3 separate regions of the Homo sapiens genome follow, and regions 2 and 3 are each linked to region 1. Evidence: promoter capture Hi-C in 16 types of primary human blood cells and fetal thymus (Javierre and others, 2016). All regions are on one chromosome and are shown on one strand. Each heading gives the region's core, a stretch centred on a gene start or on the middle of the fragment in contact. The rest is flanking DNA. Distances are from core to core; before and after follow the strand shown. Region 1 holds the start of TJP3 (tight junction protein 3). Region 2 overlaps FZR1 (fizzy and cell division cycle 20 related 1). Region 3 overlaps FZR1 (fizzy and cell division cycle 20 related 1).

Region 1 (4,526 bases), core at 1,397-3,896:
TGGGTCACGCCTGTAATCCCAGCACTTTGGGAGGCAGAGGTGGGTGGATCACCTGAGGTCAGGAGTTTGAGACCAGCCTGGCCAACATGATGAAACCCCACCTCTACTGAAAATACCAAAAAAGTAGCCAGGCGTAGTGGCACATGCCTGTAATTCCAGCTACTCGGGAGGCTGAGGCAGGAGAATCGCTTGAACCCGGGAGGCAGAGGTTGCAGTGAGCCGAGATGGCGCCACTGCACTCCAGCCCGGGAGACAGAGTGAGACTCCGTCTCAAAACACAAAAACAAACAAACAAACAAAAAACTTAAAAAAAAGAAAACTAGGGCAGGGATGGGGTGACAGGAGGGGAGAGGCAAGGGACAGAGAGGAGGGGCTGGGGTCCGGGAGAGCCACCAGCCTTCTGTGCCTTCCCCGCATCCCCCCACGCCCCTGGTTGGCTGTCCCCATTACGCAGGGTGGAAAACCGAGGCTGCCCGGCGGGGGCCGGTTGCGTGGTTTCTGGCGCCGCCTGGTGGCCATAGTGGCTACTACCGTCAGCAGGAGGTACTGCAGGCTGGAGGGACCCTAGTCCATTCATTCCAAAAACATGTATTGAGCACCTACTGTGTACCAGGCACTGTGCTAGGCCATAGGACACGGCAGGGATGAGCACGACAAAGTCCATGACCTCTGTGAGGTGGCATTTTAATATTTATTTATTTATTTTTCAGCCAGCGTCTTGCTCTGTCTCCCAAGCTGGAGTGCAGTGGCGCGATCTCGGCTCACTGCAACCTCTGCCTCTGGGGCTCAAGCGATTCTCCCGTCTCAGCCTCCTGAGTAGCTGGGATTACAGACGCATGCCACCTTGCCCGGCTAATTTTTGTATTTTTAGTAGAGATGGGGTTTCACCATGTTGGCCAGGCTGGTCTCGAACTCCTAACTCAAGCAATTCTCCCACCTCAACCTCCCAAAGTGCTGGGATTACAGGGGTGAGCCATTGAGCCCAGACTTAATTTTTTAAATTTTAATTTTAATGTACTGGTAAAGATGGGGGGGTGTCTCACTATGTTGCCCAGACTGGTCTCGAATTCCTGGCCTCAAGTGATCCTGCCACCTTGGCCTCCAAAGTACTGAGATTATAGGTGTGAGCCATCATGCCCAACCCTTCCTGGTTAATTTTATTTTATTGAGATAGGATCTTGCTCTGTCACCCAGGTTGGAGTGCAGTGGCACAGTCATAGCTCTCTGCAGCCTCAACCTCCCAGGGTCAATTGATCCTCCCACCTCAGCCTCCTGAGTTTCTGGGACTACAGGTGTGTACCACCACATCTGGCTAATTTTTAAAAAAGTTTTCTGGGCTGGGCGTGGTGGCTCACGCCTGTAATCTCAGCACTTTGAGAGGCCAAGGCAGGCGGATCACCTGAGGCCAGGAGTTCAAGACCAGCTTGGCCAATATGGTGAAACTCCGTCTCTACAAAAATACAAAAATTAGCTGGGCATGATGGCTGGTGCCTGTAATGCAATCCCAGCTACTCGGGAGGCTGAGGCAGGAGAATCACTTGAAACCGGGAGGCAAAGGTTGCAGTGGGCCGAGATCAAGCCATTGCACTCCAGCCTGGGCAACATAGCAAGACTCTGTCTCAAAAAAATAAAAAAAAAATAAAATAAAAACAAAAAACAAAACAAAACCAACAACAGCCAGCAGCAACAACAAAAAAACTTTTCTAGGCCAGGCTCGGTGGCTCACGCCTGTAATCCCAACACTTTGGGAGGCCGAGGCGGGCAGATCACTTGAGGTCAGGAGTTTGAGACCAGCCTGGCCAACATAGGAAAACCCCGTCTCTACTGAAAAAAAAAAAAAAAATTAGCTGGGCGTGGTGGTGCACGCCTGTAATCCCAGCTACTTGGGAGGCTGAGGCAGAAGAATCACTTGAACCCAGGAGGCGGAGGTTGCAGTGAGCCGAGATCGCGCCACTGCACTCCAGCCTGGGTGACAGAGGGAGACTCCATCTCAAAACAAACAACAAACAAAAGATATATAAAAATTTTTCTAGAGATGGGTTTCACCGTGTTACCCAGGCTGGTCTCAAATTCCCAGGCTCAAGTGATCCTCCCACCTCGGCCTCCCAAAGTGCTGGAATTACAGGTGTGAGCCACCACACCTGACCCTTTCTTGTTTTTTAGATGAGGACAGCAAGAAGCCCCTGTAATTTGCCCAAAGCCACACAGCGGGGAAGTGGCAGAAGCTTCTGTACGTAGGAACCCAGTCACTTCGTAGCAGAGAGGCAGACTGCGCACAGATCTGCGTGGGGAAGGGAGTGCGCCAAGCCACAGCCTGATGGGCCGGCGTGCCTGGCAGGAGGCTCAGCAAGCACAGAGACTGGGCAGCTCCAGATGCAAGAAGCAGGAGGGAGGGGGACTCCGGGAGTGCGGTCCATTCATGTCTGAATGTAGCCAACGAGGGTTTCCTAAGCACCTACCATGTGCGGACGCTTGATACCAGGGCCTCGGCGGTGAGGGCACAGGCAGGAGCAAGCTCACCTCTGGGCAAGCAGGGGTTAAGGCCAGTTGCTCCCACGTGAGGGCACCTTGCGACAGAGCCACACACCCAGTCCTCCTGCTGGCCCGCCCCTCACCCTGGTCCGTCTCCCTGTGTCTGTGGTCGTCAGTTCCACTGGCAGGGGACCTGCCTCCCTGTTGCCACCACAAGAGAGGAAAAGTTGGTCAAACAGGTGGGGAGGCCAGAGCTACAAGCCTCGGGTTCCCTCCCCACCACCCGTGCCAGGCAGGCACCCGGGCCCTGGCACCTGCTGCCTGCCCAGAGGCCACCCAGCCTCCTAGACAGGTAAGTCCCCCGCCCCACTGTGCTTTTCCACCCAGTGTGCATTGTCTGAGCTGGCCTTCCCCAGCTGAGGGTCCTTAGACTCCCCCCCAACCTCCCCCACCACGAGCTGTCTCCCCGGCTCCTCGGAAAGCAGGAAACTGACACTCCTGCGTGGGCATCTGACATAGTTTCGTAGGGATTATCTGACCGGCAGTTACTGCACCTGGCGGCCTGCCCAGGACGCTGAGCTGGAAACTTAAAAGGGTCATTGTTACCTAGGTGGCGCAGGGACCGGGGAGGCGGCAAAGGGGCACAGGTTGGTCTCTGATCCCCCTAACTGAGGAGGGGAGGGGATATCAGTCCAGACGGAGCCTGGGTTTACCTCCTGCAGCCCGAGGCTAGGAGGTGACAGGTGGGAAAGGCTGCGACCTCACTCATCTCTGAGCCTCCTGGAACTTCTTAAAAGGCTCCCAAGTTTTGAAACAACTGCGTCTCCCGCCCCCCAACCCCTCACCCTGTTCTCACCGCTGGAACCTCCAGGAGCTTTGCAGGGAGGGATTGGGGTGGCCTTTCTTTTGCTAATTTTTTTTTTGAGACGGAGTTTTGCTCTTGTTGCCCAGGCTGGAGTGCAGTGGTGCGATCTTGGCTCACTGCAACCTCTGCCTCCACCTCTGCCTCCCGAGTAGCTGGGATTACAAGCGCCCACCACTATGCCCAGCTAATTTTTGTATTTTTAGTAGAGATGGGGTTTCACCATGTTGGCCAGGCTGGTCTCGAACTCCTGACCTCAGGTGATCCAACCCCCTCGGCCTCCCAAAGTGCTGGGATTACAGGCGCAAGCCACTGCGCCCAGACTTCTTTTTCTAATCTTTACTCCTCCGAGCAAAATCTCTGTGGGATGGGGCAGAGGGGAAGGAGGAAGGAGCGCTCAGAGCCAGAGAGGGGAGGGGTCGGCAGCAAAAGTGTTTTTCTGGGTCATTTGCTCCCAAATGGGAAGACCAAGGGAGCTTCCTCGTGAGCCAAGTGTCCGATTGCATCTCAAGTCTCTCTCCAGAACCAAGAGGGTCCCCCGGGGCCGAGGAGGCATGGATGATCGCATAGTGGGGGACAGAGCGGCCCGGCATTTGGGGTCACCTTGTGGCTGTGTGGCTGCAGAGCTCCCAGGGAGCAGGCTTGCTTGAGATTCGGGAGTCCGTGGGGGTGGGCGACATGGATCCCACCTTGCCTGGGTTTTGAGAGCAAACCCGTGGACTCAGTTAGATCTGGCTTCCACACCTCCCTTCTCTCCGGGCCTCTGTTTCCTGCTCTGTAAAATGGGGATATTGAGGGCCGGGCGCGGTGGCTCACGCCTGTAATCCCAGCACTTTGGGAGGTCGAGGCGAGTGGATCACAAGGTCAGGAGTTCGAGACCAGCCTGGCCAACATGGTGGAACCCTGTCTCTACTAAAAATACAAAAAATGAGCCGAATATGGTGGCAAGCACTTGTAATCCCAGCTACTCCGGAGGCTGAGGCAGGAGAATTGCTTGAACCCAGGAGGTGGAGGTTGCAGTGAGCCGAGATTGTGCCACTGCACTCCAGCCTGGACAACAGAGTGAGACTCTGTCTCAAAAAAAAAAAAAAAAAAAGGGGTGGGGGGATATGGAGTCACCAAGGCACAGGGCTGTTGAGTGCCGGATGTAATAAAGCGGGTAACAGATTCTCGGTCATTCTGGGGTCAAGAC
Region 2 (4,526 bases), core at 842-3,341, 190 kb before region 1:
TCCCAGGGCGTCTCCCTCTGTACGGGGGCCCTGTCACTGTTTTGTCAGGTGACTGGGTCATGCCCATTTCCCAGGGGAACAGGAAGAAGCTCGAGACTGAAGGCTTGCCCGGGGCAGTGGCAGAAGGAGGCCTCCTGGCTCTTCATTCTGGGGCCCAGGGGGTGAAAGGTGGACCTTCCCTATGAGCTGGCCCAGGGGGTTTGCAGGACCCACAGGGCAGTGCCCTGCCAAGGGGATGGGGCAGCAGGAAGCCCGGTGGCCCAGGGCCCGGGTCCACCACCCAGACCAGGGCAACCAAGCTGCAGGTGTCGGCCACACAGGCAGAGCCACAGCAGCATCCCCACTAGGCACCCCCGGGCCAGGGACAAGAACCTCTGCAGGGCCTGGCGGAGCACGAGTCACTCACTGATTCACTGCTGATGTGCAGCGAGGGTCCGGGTTGCTGCTAAACTCCCTCGACCCGGTCTGAGCCTTTCCACACGGCCACACACGTTGTCTGTGCTCAGGAATTACTTAACAGCAGCTTAAGATCCTGATTTCTCTCTACTCTAACCTTTTACGATGAAACCTTCCGAGCATCCAGCAAAGGAGGGAGAATGCGGTGGTGCCCGGTCTCATCCGGAGCCTGCCTGGCCCATCTCTGACCGTGGTTTGTTTTTTTGAATACCTCACAGTTCACGTGATACAGAATTCTAGAAGTACAGGCCGGGCGCGGTGGCTCACGCTTGTAATCCCAGCACTTTGGGAGGCCGAGGCGGGCGGATCACAAGGTCAGGAGATCGAAACCATCCTGGCTAATACTGTGAAACCCCGTCTCTACTAAAAATACAAAAAATTAGGCACTACAGTGGCGGGCCCCTGTAGTCCCAGCTACTCGGGAGGCTGAGGCAGGAGAATGGTGTGAACCAGGAGGCGGAGCTTGCAGTGAGCAGAGATCGCACCACTGCAGTCCAGCCTGGGTGACAGAGCCAGACTCCGTCTCTAAAAAAAAAAAAAAAAGGAATTCAAGAAGTACAAAACGAGGTGCCAGGAGAAATAAGGCTTCTTTCCTCCCCAATCCTCGTCCTCTCCTTCCTCTCCCCACCCACCCCATGACCAGCCGCTTTTCGAACCTTCTGGGAGCAGTGTGCTCTGCATGGCCATTTTTCTGTGCAGTGGGTCTCACAGCCTCTTCCGCTCCCTGTCTGATGGCCTCTTGCGTCTTCCACTCTGACTAGCTGCCGCAGTGACTCCATCTCTGCACACATGCATGCTGAGTTTCTAAGGATAAATTCTTAGAAGTAGAAATACCGCATCACAGAGGATGTGCATTTTTTAAATTTTGGAAGCAGTTGCCAAATTGCCTTCCTTTGAAGCCGTAGCAGTTTGCAGCTTCTGCCAACCATGAGTGCGTGTGGCTGTCTCTCCCCACGCCTGGGATGGTGAGGCCGAGTCCCCCAGCCCACAGCCTCCCCCACCGTCTGACGGGCGGGAGGGTGGTGTCCTCGGTTGGATTGGCAGCTCCTGACTGCGAGGGAGGACTGGTCCTTTCCCAGTGCGGTTTGTTGGTGTCCTTTGCTACTTTGGGCTCTCCTGTGGGTGGCAGGTGCTTCCCTCAGTTTGTCATCTGTTTTTTAACTGTGTTGGTGGTGTGTCTGCCCTGCGGACTCCCAATTTTCCCGGTGTTGAATTCCACAGCCATGCCTCTTATGGCTCCTGGATTTTGTTCTTCCTGCAGCGCAGCTGAGCGAGGGGCTTAGAGGGGTCGCTGGGGGTCCCGGAGCTGAGCTGAGCACCGCTAGCAGCACCGGGCAAGTGTCCAGGTGAGGTGCCCCGGGAGGCCCCAGGCCCGGGATACAGGACCCTCCAGATCTCGGAGGTGGGAAGACAGTCTGCACACCCGTCTTGTGCACCCCTGCCCTCACTGCAGGGACAGACAGGAGCTGGGTCTCAGGCTGCTGGGCAGGCCTGGGCCCTGTGGTTTTGCCCACCAGCCTTGGGCAGCGTTGAGTGAGTTGTGTGGCCAGTAGACTGACAGCTGCTGCCCACCTGGCAACGTTTGGGCCATTGGCTCACGGCGTCTCTGTTGCCCCGGAGGGCTTGTCAGGTGCAGCCATGTGCTGCTGGGCAGCGATGTGTGCCAGGGGCCGTGTGCAGCTGCAGCTGGCGCCCGGTGTATTTGCTTTCAGTGCTGACTTCAGGGCAGCATCAGTGTTCTGGGGAAGTGGGGGATGATATTTTAGCCAATCACAACCAGACTCTGCCAGCAAGTGCCTCAGTGCACGCGGTTACCACCGCTGCTGCCAGTGACACTTGTTTACATTCTCTCATTCTGGAAAAATGCCAGCTGGGCGCGGTGGCTCACACCTGTAACCCCAGCACTCTGGGAGGCAGAGGCAGGCAGATTGCTTGAGCCCAGAAGTTCGAGACCAGCCTGGGCAACATGGGAAGCCTCCATCTCTACAAAAAATACAAAAAGTGGCTGGGTCTGGTGGAGTACACCTGTGGTCGCAGCTCCTCCAGAGGCTGAGGCAGGAGGATCACTTGAGTCTAGGAGGCAAAGGCTGCAGTAAGCCATAATTGCACCACTGCTCTCCAGCCTAGGTGACAGAGTGAGACCCGGTCTCAAAAATAAAAATCCTGGCTGGGCGCTGTGGCTCACACCTGTAATCCCAGCACTTTGGGAAGCTGAGGCGTGTGGATCACCTGAGGTCAGGAGTTCAAGACTAGCCTGACCAACATGATGAAACCCCCTCTCTACTAAAAATACAAAAAAATAGCTGGGTGTGGTGGTGAGTGCCTGTAATCCCAGCTACTTGAGAAGCTGAGGCAGGAGAATTGCTTGAACCCGGGAGGCAGAGGTTGCAGTGTGCCGAGATTGCACCACTGCACTCCAGCCTGGGCAAAAAGAGTGAGACTCTATCTCAGAAAAATAAATGAATAAAAATTTTAAAAAGATAAAAACTCCAGGGCGCTCCTGTTTGTCCACACTTAGGTCTCTGGAAATGAATTGCATCACCAAGGTCTCTGTGTGAAACAAGATAAACAAAAAAGGGTCATCTGAAATGCTGTGATTTGTAACTAAACAAAGTTCTTTTTTTTTTTTTTTCCTTCCTGAGACAGTGTCTTGCACTGTTGCCCAGGCTGGAGTGCAGTGGTGCGATCTCAGCTCACTGCAGCCTCCACCTCAGCCTCCTGAGTCCTGGGACTACAGATGTATGCCACCACACCCAGCTAACTGTTTCTTTCTTTTTTTTTTTTTTTTTTTTTGAGACAGAGTCTCACTGTGTCACCCAGGCTGGAGTGCAGTGGCACGATCTCTGCTCACTGCAACCTCCGCCTTCCAGGTTCAAGTGATTCACCTGCCTCAGCCTCCCTAGTAGCTAGGATTACAAGCATATGCCACCATGCCCAGCTAATTTTTATTTTTTAGTAGAGACGAGGTTTCACCATGTTGGCCAGGCTGGTGTCGAACTCCTGAGCTCAGGTGATCTGTCCACCTCAGCCCCCCACAGTGCCTCTGTTTGTATTTTTTGTAGAAACGGGGTCTCGCCATGTTGGCTGATCTCAAACTCCTGGTATCCTCCTGCTGTACCTGGCAGCTAAGTTCTTTAACGAGTAAGATTTGCATTACAAAGTTTTTCCATTGTTGGAGAAGGCCTAGCCAAGGGTGCTGAAAGTACAGAAGCCACAAAGGCTCCCACCAGGACACGGGAAGGGCTGGGCCCCACCTGCAAAGTCAGATCTGGAGCAGGGGCAGTGCTGGCATGGAATACAGTCCTGGAGCCGTTCCGCTTGTGCCCGCGCTCCTGTGCCCATGGGTCCCTCTGCGAGGTGCCAGGTCTTGGGGAGACTGTCCTGTGCTGGGATTTGAAGTCTGCTGGTGCCGTTGTCCATCTTGCTTTTACTTTGGCAGCTAGTTGTTGGGGGCCACTTTTACAAATGTACTTCCTTTAGCAGGCATGGTGGTGCATGTCTCTGGTCCTAGCTACTCAGAAGGCTGAGGTAGGAAGATAGCTGGAGCCCAGGAGGTGGAGGCTGCAGTGAACCATGATCAAACTACTGCATTCCAGCCTGGGCGACAGAGCGAGAGACCCTGTCTCCATAAAAAAAAGTGTTTCCTGGCAGCACATGCCACCACCTGGAATGCTTCTCCACCAGCTTGATTTTCTCCCACTACCTCCTCTGGTAGGGAGCTCACTCCAGTGGGTGGGTGGGGCTGTGGCCCTGTCATTGGGAGGGCTCTGTTCATGTGTGTTGGTCAATGAATGACCCTCCCCACCACATCCAACACAGGATGGGGCTGTCAGAAGTCAGGGGCCGTGGGGGCACAGAGAGGAAAGAGAGAGGGCAGGGCCCCCCATGCGAGGCTGGGCAGAGAGAGGGCCTCCAGGACCGTGGGGAGCATAAGTGTCTGGGGAAGCCCCGTCCACACCTGCCACCCTCTGAAACATTCAGTCACACCTGCAGAGTCCCTGCTGCCCTGCAAGGTGGCCTAGGCACAGGTCCTGGGGTCAGGACCCTACGCCCCTGGCAGTCCGGATCGT
Region 3 (4,526 bases), core at 1,432-3,931, 170 kb before region 1:
CCACTGCACACTCCAGCCTGGGTGACAGAGCCAGACCCCGTCTTAAAATTAAAAAAAAAAAAAAAAAAAAGGCTCCAACCTTGGTTTCTGCTTGTGGTGGCCCCAGCCTGCCCCTCCCTCCTGGCTCCAGAGTCTGGGGGGCCCAGCCACCCGACACCTTGCTCCCCTCTCCTTCAGTCCCCCAGCACTGTCCCGAGGCACCTAGAGGCCCAGAGACATGGGGTGCTTCCCTCCTGTCCACAGGCAATGTCCCCTGATGGGGAGGCCATCGTCACTGGTGCTGGAGACGAGACCCTGAGGTTCTGGAACGTCTTTAGCAAAACCCGTTCGACAAAGGTAAAGTGGGTCGGTATCAGCGCCACTCGCCCCCGCCCCAGCCTGTCCCAGGGTCGTCCCTGTCCCCACTGTCCTCGGGCGTACCCTCCTCTGGGTTCCCCCACTTCCGAGCTTCCCTCACCTCAAATTCTGGGTCATGTGTCGGGGCAGTGTGGCAGGCCGAGGCTGAACTGGCACCTCCCAGCCCCTCAGGACCAAGCCCCAAAGCCTTGGGGACCCTCCAGGCAGCTTCCTCCCTGGGCCTGCGGCTCAGCGCATCTGCCATCCCCATGTGTCTGCAGGAGTCTGTGTCTGTGCTCAACCTCTTCACCAGGATCCGGTAAACCTGCCGGGCAGGACCGTGCCACACCAGCTGTCCAGAGTCGGAGGACCCCAGCTCCTCAGCTTGCATGGACTCTGCCTTCCCAGCGCTTGTCCCCCGAGGAAGGCGGCTGGGCGGGCGGGGAGCTGGGCCTGGAGGATCCTGGAGTCTCATTAAATGCCTGATTGTGAACCATGTCCACCAGTATCTGGGGTGGGCACGTGGTCGGGGACCCTCAGCAGCAGGGGCTCTGTCTCCCTTCCCAAAGGGCGAGAACCACATTGGACGGTCCCGGCTCAGACCGTCTGTACTCAGAGCGACGGATGCCCCCTGGGACCCTCACTGCCTCCGTCTGTTCATCACCTGCCCACCGGAGCCGCATGCTCTTCCTGGAACTGCCCACGTCTGCACAGAACAGACCACCAGACGCCAGGGCTGATTGGTGGGGGCCTGAGACCCCGGTTGCCCATTCATGGCTGCACCCCACCATGTCAAACCCAAGACCAGCCCCAAGGCCAGACCAAGGCATGTAGGCCTGGGCAGGTGGCTCGGGGCCACTGGCGGAGCCAGCCTGTGGATCCAAGAGACAGTCCCCACCTGGGCTTCACGGCATCCTTGCAGCCACCTCTGCTGTCACTGCTCGAAGCAGCAGTCTCTCTGGAAGCATCTGTGTCATGGCCATCGCCCGGCGGTCAGTGGGCTTCAGATGGGCCTGTGCATCCTGGCCAAGCGTCACCCTCACACTGGAGGAGGATGTCTGCTCTGGACTTATCACCCCAGGAGAACTGAACCCGGACCTGCTCACTGCCCTGGCTGGAGAGGAGCACAACAGATGCCACGTCTTCGTGCATTCGCCAACACGTGCCCTCACAGGGCCAGCGTCCTCCTTCCCTGCGCAAGACTTGCGTCCCCCATGCCTGCTGGGTGGCTGGGTCCTGTGGAGGCCAGCAGCGGTGTGGCCCCCGCCCCCAGGCTGCCTGTGTCTTCACCTGTCCTGTCCACCAGCGCCAACAGCCGTGGGGAAGCCAAGGAGACCCAAGGGGTCCAGGAGGTGGGCGCCCTCCATCCTTCGAGAAGCTTCCCAGGCTCCTCTGCTTCTCTGTCTCATGCTCCCAGGCTGCACAGCAGGCAGGGAGGGAGGCAAGGCAGGGGAGTGGGGCCTGAGCTGAGCACTGCCCCCTCACCCCCCCACCACCCCTTCCCATTTCATCGGTGGGGACGTGGAGAGGGTGGGGCGGGCTGGGGTTGGAGGGTCCCACCCACCACCCTGCTGTGCTTGGGAACCCCCACTCCCCACTCCCCACATCCCAACATCCTGGTGTCTGTCCCCAGTGGGGTTGGCGTGCATGTGTACATATGTATTTGTGACTTTTCTTTGGATTTGTTTTGTGTTTTTGTTGACTAGTCCTGGAAATGTTTGAGGCTAGACGGGGAGGGGCCAGGACCCACCCACTGCTCCTGGGGGATGAGGTCCTGGTTTTAAAGCCCCGTCATTTCAAGCGGGTCGATCTTCCACATTCACTGGAGAGACTCTCCCCACCTCTGTCTGGGTGGGGCGCGGACCCCTCACTGTGCGCCTGTGCAGGGGGTGCTGGTGCACGTGGCAGTGTGGATTTCCAGTGGTCACGGTCTTACTGTTTCAAGGTTTTTAAATAAGAAAACCAACCCTGCCTTCGCCCATGCCCGCCCCTGCCCGCAGTTGCCAAAGAGCCGCCTTGTCGCTGTGGGCGTCAGGGCTTGGCTGGCTCAGTGCACAACCCACAGTGGCCTTCAGAGGCTCCTCCTGGGACTGGGAACCGCCGCAGGGCCAGGCGGACGGCGTGAGGTTTGTGTTGGGGCTGGTTCTGCCCATGCTAGGGGGTGGGGGAGCTCCCAGGACAGACCAGCCTTGTTTCTCATGTAATGCAGTGACGCTGTCATTAAACACGTGGATTCATGTGTGGCCGGGACTGGCTGGCTCTAGGTCCCCGGCTCGGGTGGGGTCACACGGTCCTGCCCTAGAGTCCCCATCTGGCCCTGGAGCTGCAGAAGCAGCTTCTGAGGGGCTTCCCAGGCCTGCATTTCACAGATGGGGAGCTCAGCCCTCGAAGGCCGCAGAGACGCCTCCCAGGCCCGTCTGCCAGGGCGCCGGCCACAATCCTGCAGGGCCAAGGACTGGACTCCAGGCAAGTCCCTGCGCTCCAGCTGGACGGCCCTGTTCCAGGGAGGAGGTGCTCGGTTGACACCATCAGGGAGGGAGGGTGGGCACTGCTGGGCTGAGTTCACCCCCAGGGCTGGCCAGATGGGGCCAGGAGGGACAGAGCAAGGGGGGTGAAGGCCGTGGTGGGAGGGTCCCATGATGATGGGCCAGGGCTCGTGTAGAAATGGGGGAATTGGTTCCCCATGGCCCAGGACAGCTGAGAGGAGGTGGAGGGGCCCCAGGGGAGTGTACGTCAGGCTTTGCGGGGCACGGGGGCCACTCAGCAGCGCTGGGGCAGGTGCCTCTGCTGTCAGCTCCACCCGACAGGCAGACGAAGGCCAGTGGGGCCATCGCTTCCTGGGGCGACCCTGGCAGTGGTTGGGAGACGCCCAGATGGAGGGGGAGGCTGACCAAGGGCCCCGCAGGGCGGGCTGCAACTTTTCTGTTGATCCTGGAATGTAGCTGGTGCAGTGAGAGGGAAAGAGAATTGAAAAACTCAGGCTGCCATAGGTTCTGCGATGAGAGGTGCAGGAGGCAGGAGCCTGGCCCAGGGGGTGCTGGTGCCTCCCCGGGGTCTGGGCGGAGAGAACAGGAGGAATGGCTGGGAAGTGGCTGAGGGAGCCAGGAGGCCGGGGGGCCGGGGGCTGCAGGGGAGGCTGTGGGGGTCCTGGCAGCCAGGAGGCCCCAGGTGGTTTTGAGGCTCGCTCTTGCGCGGTGCCTGAGAAGAGGGTGAAGGAGCTGGGGCAGGCCCCATCCTGGGCATTGGAGATGATGAAACCGAGCAGACCTGGCCCATGTGGAGCTGGCATGGGGGACACAGCCCAGAGACAGAGAAGCTTATGAGGAAGTGAGGAGGTGGCGTCACAAGGGTGGGGAGGGGGCCTTGGGGAAGGGCGGCCTTGGATCAGAGGCTCACCACAAGCCTGGCATTTCAGCCAGGGCTGGAGAAGGCAGGGACGCCTGGGTGAGAGGCAAAGGGCACAGCCATGCAAAGGCCCTGGGGCAGGACGGCACCTGGTATGCGGGAGGAACAGAGTGAGGAGAGGAGGGCAGGGCGTGCAGGGCCTTGTGGGCCTCAGGGAGGACTTGGGCACCTACGCCGAGGGAGTGGAGCTCCTGGGTGCGTGTCCAGATGGGAAAGGCAGGGTCGTATCTGTGGGGACCTGACAAGGGCAGGGGAAGCGGAGACCAGGGTGCAGGCTCCGCCCCCACCCAAGGCCGGGCCCAGCCAGAGGAGGGGCAGGGCAGGGCAGGAGGTTTCTGGATGTTTGTTGGGTTTGGTTTGGTTTTGTTTTGTTTTGTTTATTGTGGTAAAATACAAAATCTACCGTCTTACAGTGAGGTGGCGTTCAGTACCTTCACCACGCCGTGCAGCCATCCCATCTGATTCCAGAACATTCTCATCACCCAGAAGGCAGCCCTGTCCCCATTATGTCACCTAGTCACCCCCAGGTCCCCCTCCCCAGTCCCGGCACCCACGAATCCTCTCCCTGATTCTGTGGATTGGTCTGTCCTGGACATTTCATAGAAGTGGGATCACAGCGTACCCTTCTGTGTCTGGTGTCTCTCACTGAGCGTGACATCCTCAAGGTGCATCCGCACTGTGGCCTGGGTCAGAGCTTCGCACCTCCTTGTGGCTGAGTCTCGTTCCAGCACGGTGGCGGCGCCGTGCTGATCCCCTCACCTTCACTGGGTGTTCGGTGTTCTCCG

The links. The method cuts DNA at HindIII sites, captures the fragments that hold promoters and counts their contacts. A CHiCAGO score of 5 or more calls a contact.
Region 2: a contact is called between a fragment that was not itself captured here and the fragment with the promoter of TJP3 in region 1, in 2 of 17 cell types (megakaryocytes and endothelial precursors). The highest score is 5.8, in megakaryocytes.
Region 3: a fragment that was not itself captured here is called in contact with the fragment with the promoter of TJP3 in region 1 in 1 of 17 cell types (endothelial precursors); the score reaches 6.8 in endothelial precursors.

The regions. Positions count from the first base shown.
Region 1 is chr19:3,705,738-3,710,263 of GRCh38, forward strand. TJP3 (tight junction protein 3) reads left to right here and starts at 2,647. Exons shown (of 21, transcript NM_001267560.2): 1 at 2,647-2,824. RefSeq lists enhancers at 2,092-2,755, 2,756-3,417, 4,253-4,526. The HindIII fragment of the contact is 2,818 bases long and covers 2,224-4,526 here.
Region 2 is chr19:3,514,784-3,519,309 of GRCh38, forward strand. All of the region lies in intron 1 of FZR1 (fizzy and cell division cycle 20 related 1), which reads left to right. It overlaps LOC124904617 (a long non-coding RNA gene), which reads right to left. Exons shown (of 2, transcript XR_007067099.1): 2 at 3,380-4,526. Among named protein-coding and RNA genes, the nearest start is that of FZR1, 11 kb to the left of the region's middle. RefSeq lists enhancers at 1,331-2,157, 2,158-2,982, 3,263-4,065. The HindIII fragment of the contact is 8,857 bases long and covers 1-4,526 here.
Region 3 is chr19:3,534,178-3,538,703 of GRCh38, forward strand. It overlaps FZR1 (fizzy and cell division cycle 20 related 1), which reads left to right. Exons shown (of 14, transcript NM_016263.4): 13 at 244-336; 14 at 618-4,157. The coding sequence ends at 659. It also overlaps a transcript of MFSD12 not described here. Among named protein-coding and RNA genes, the nearest start is that of TEKTIP1, 2.7 kb to the right of the region's middle. The HindIII fragment of the contact is 1,938 bases long and covers 1,713-3,650 here.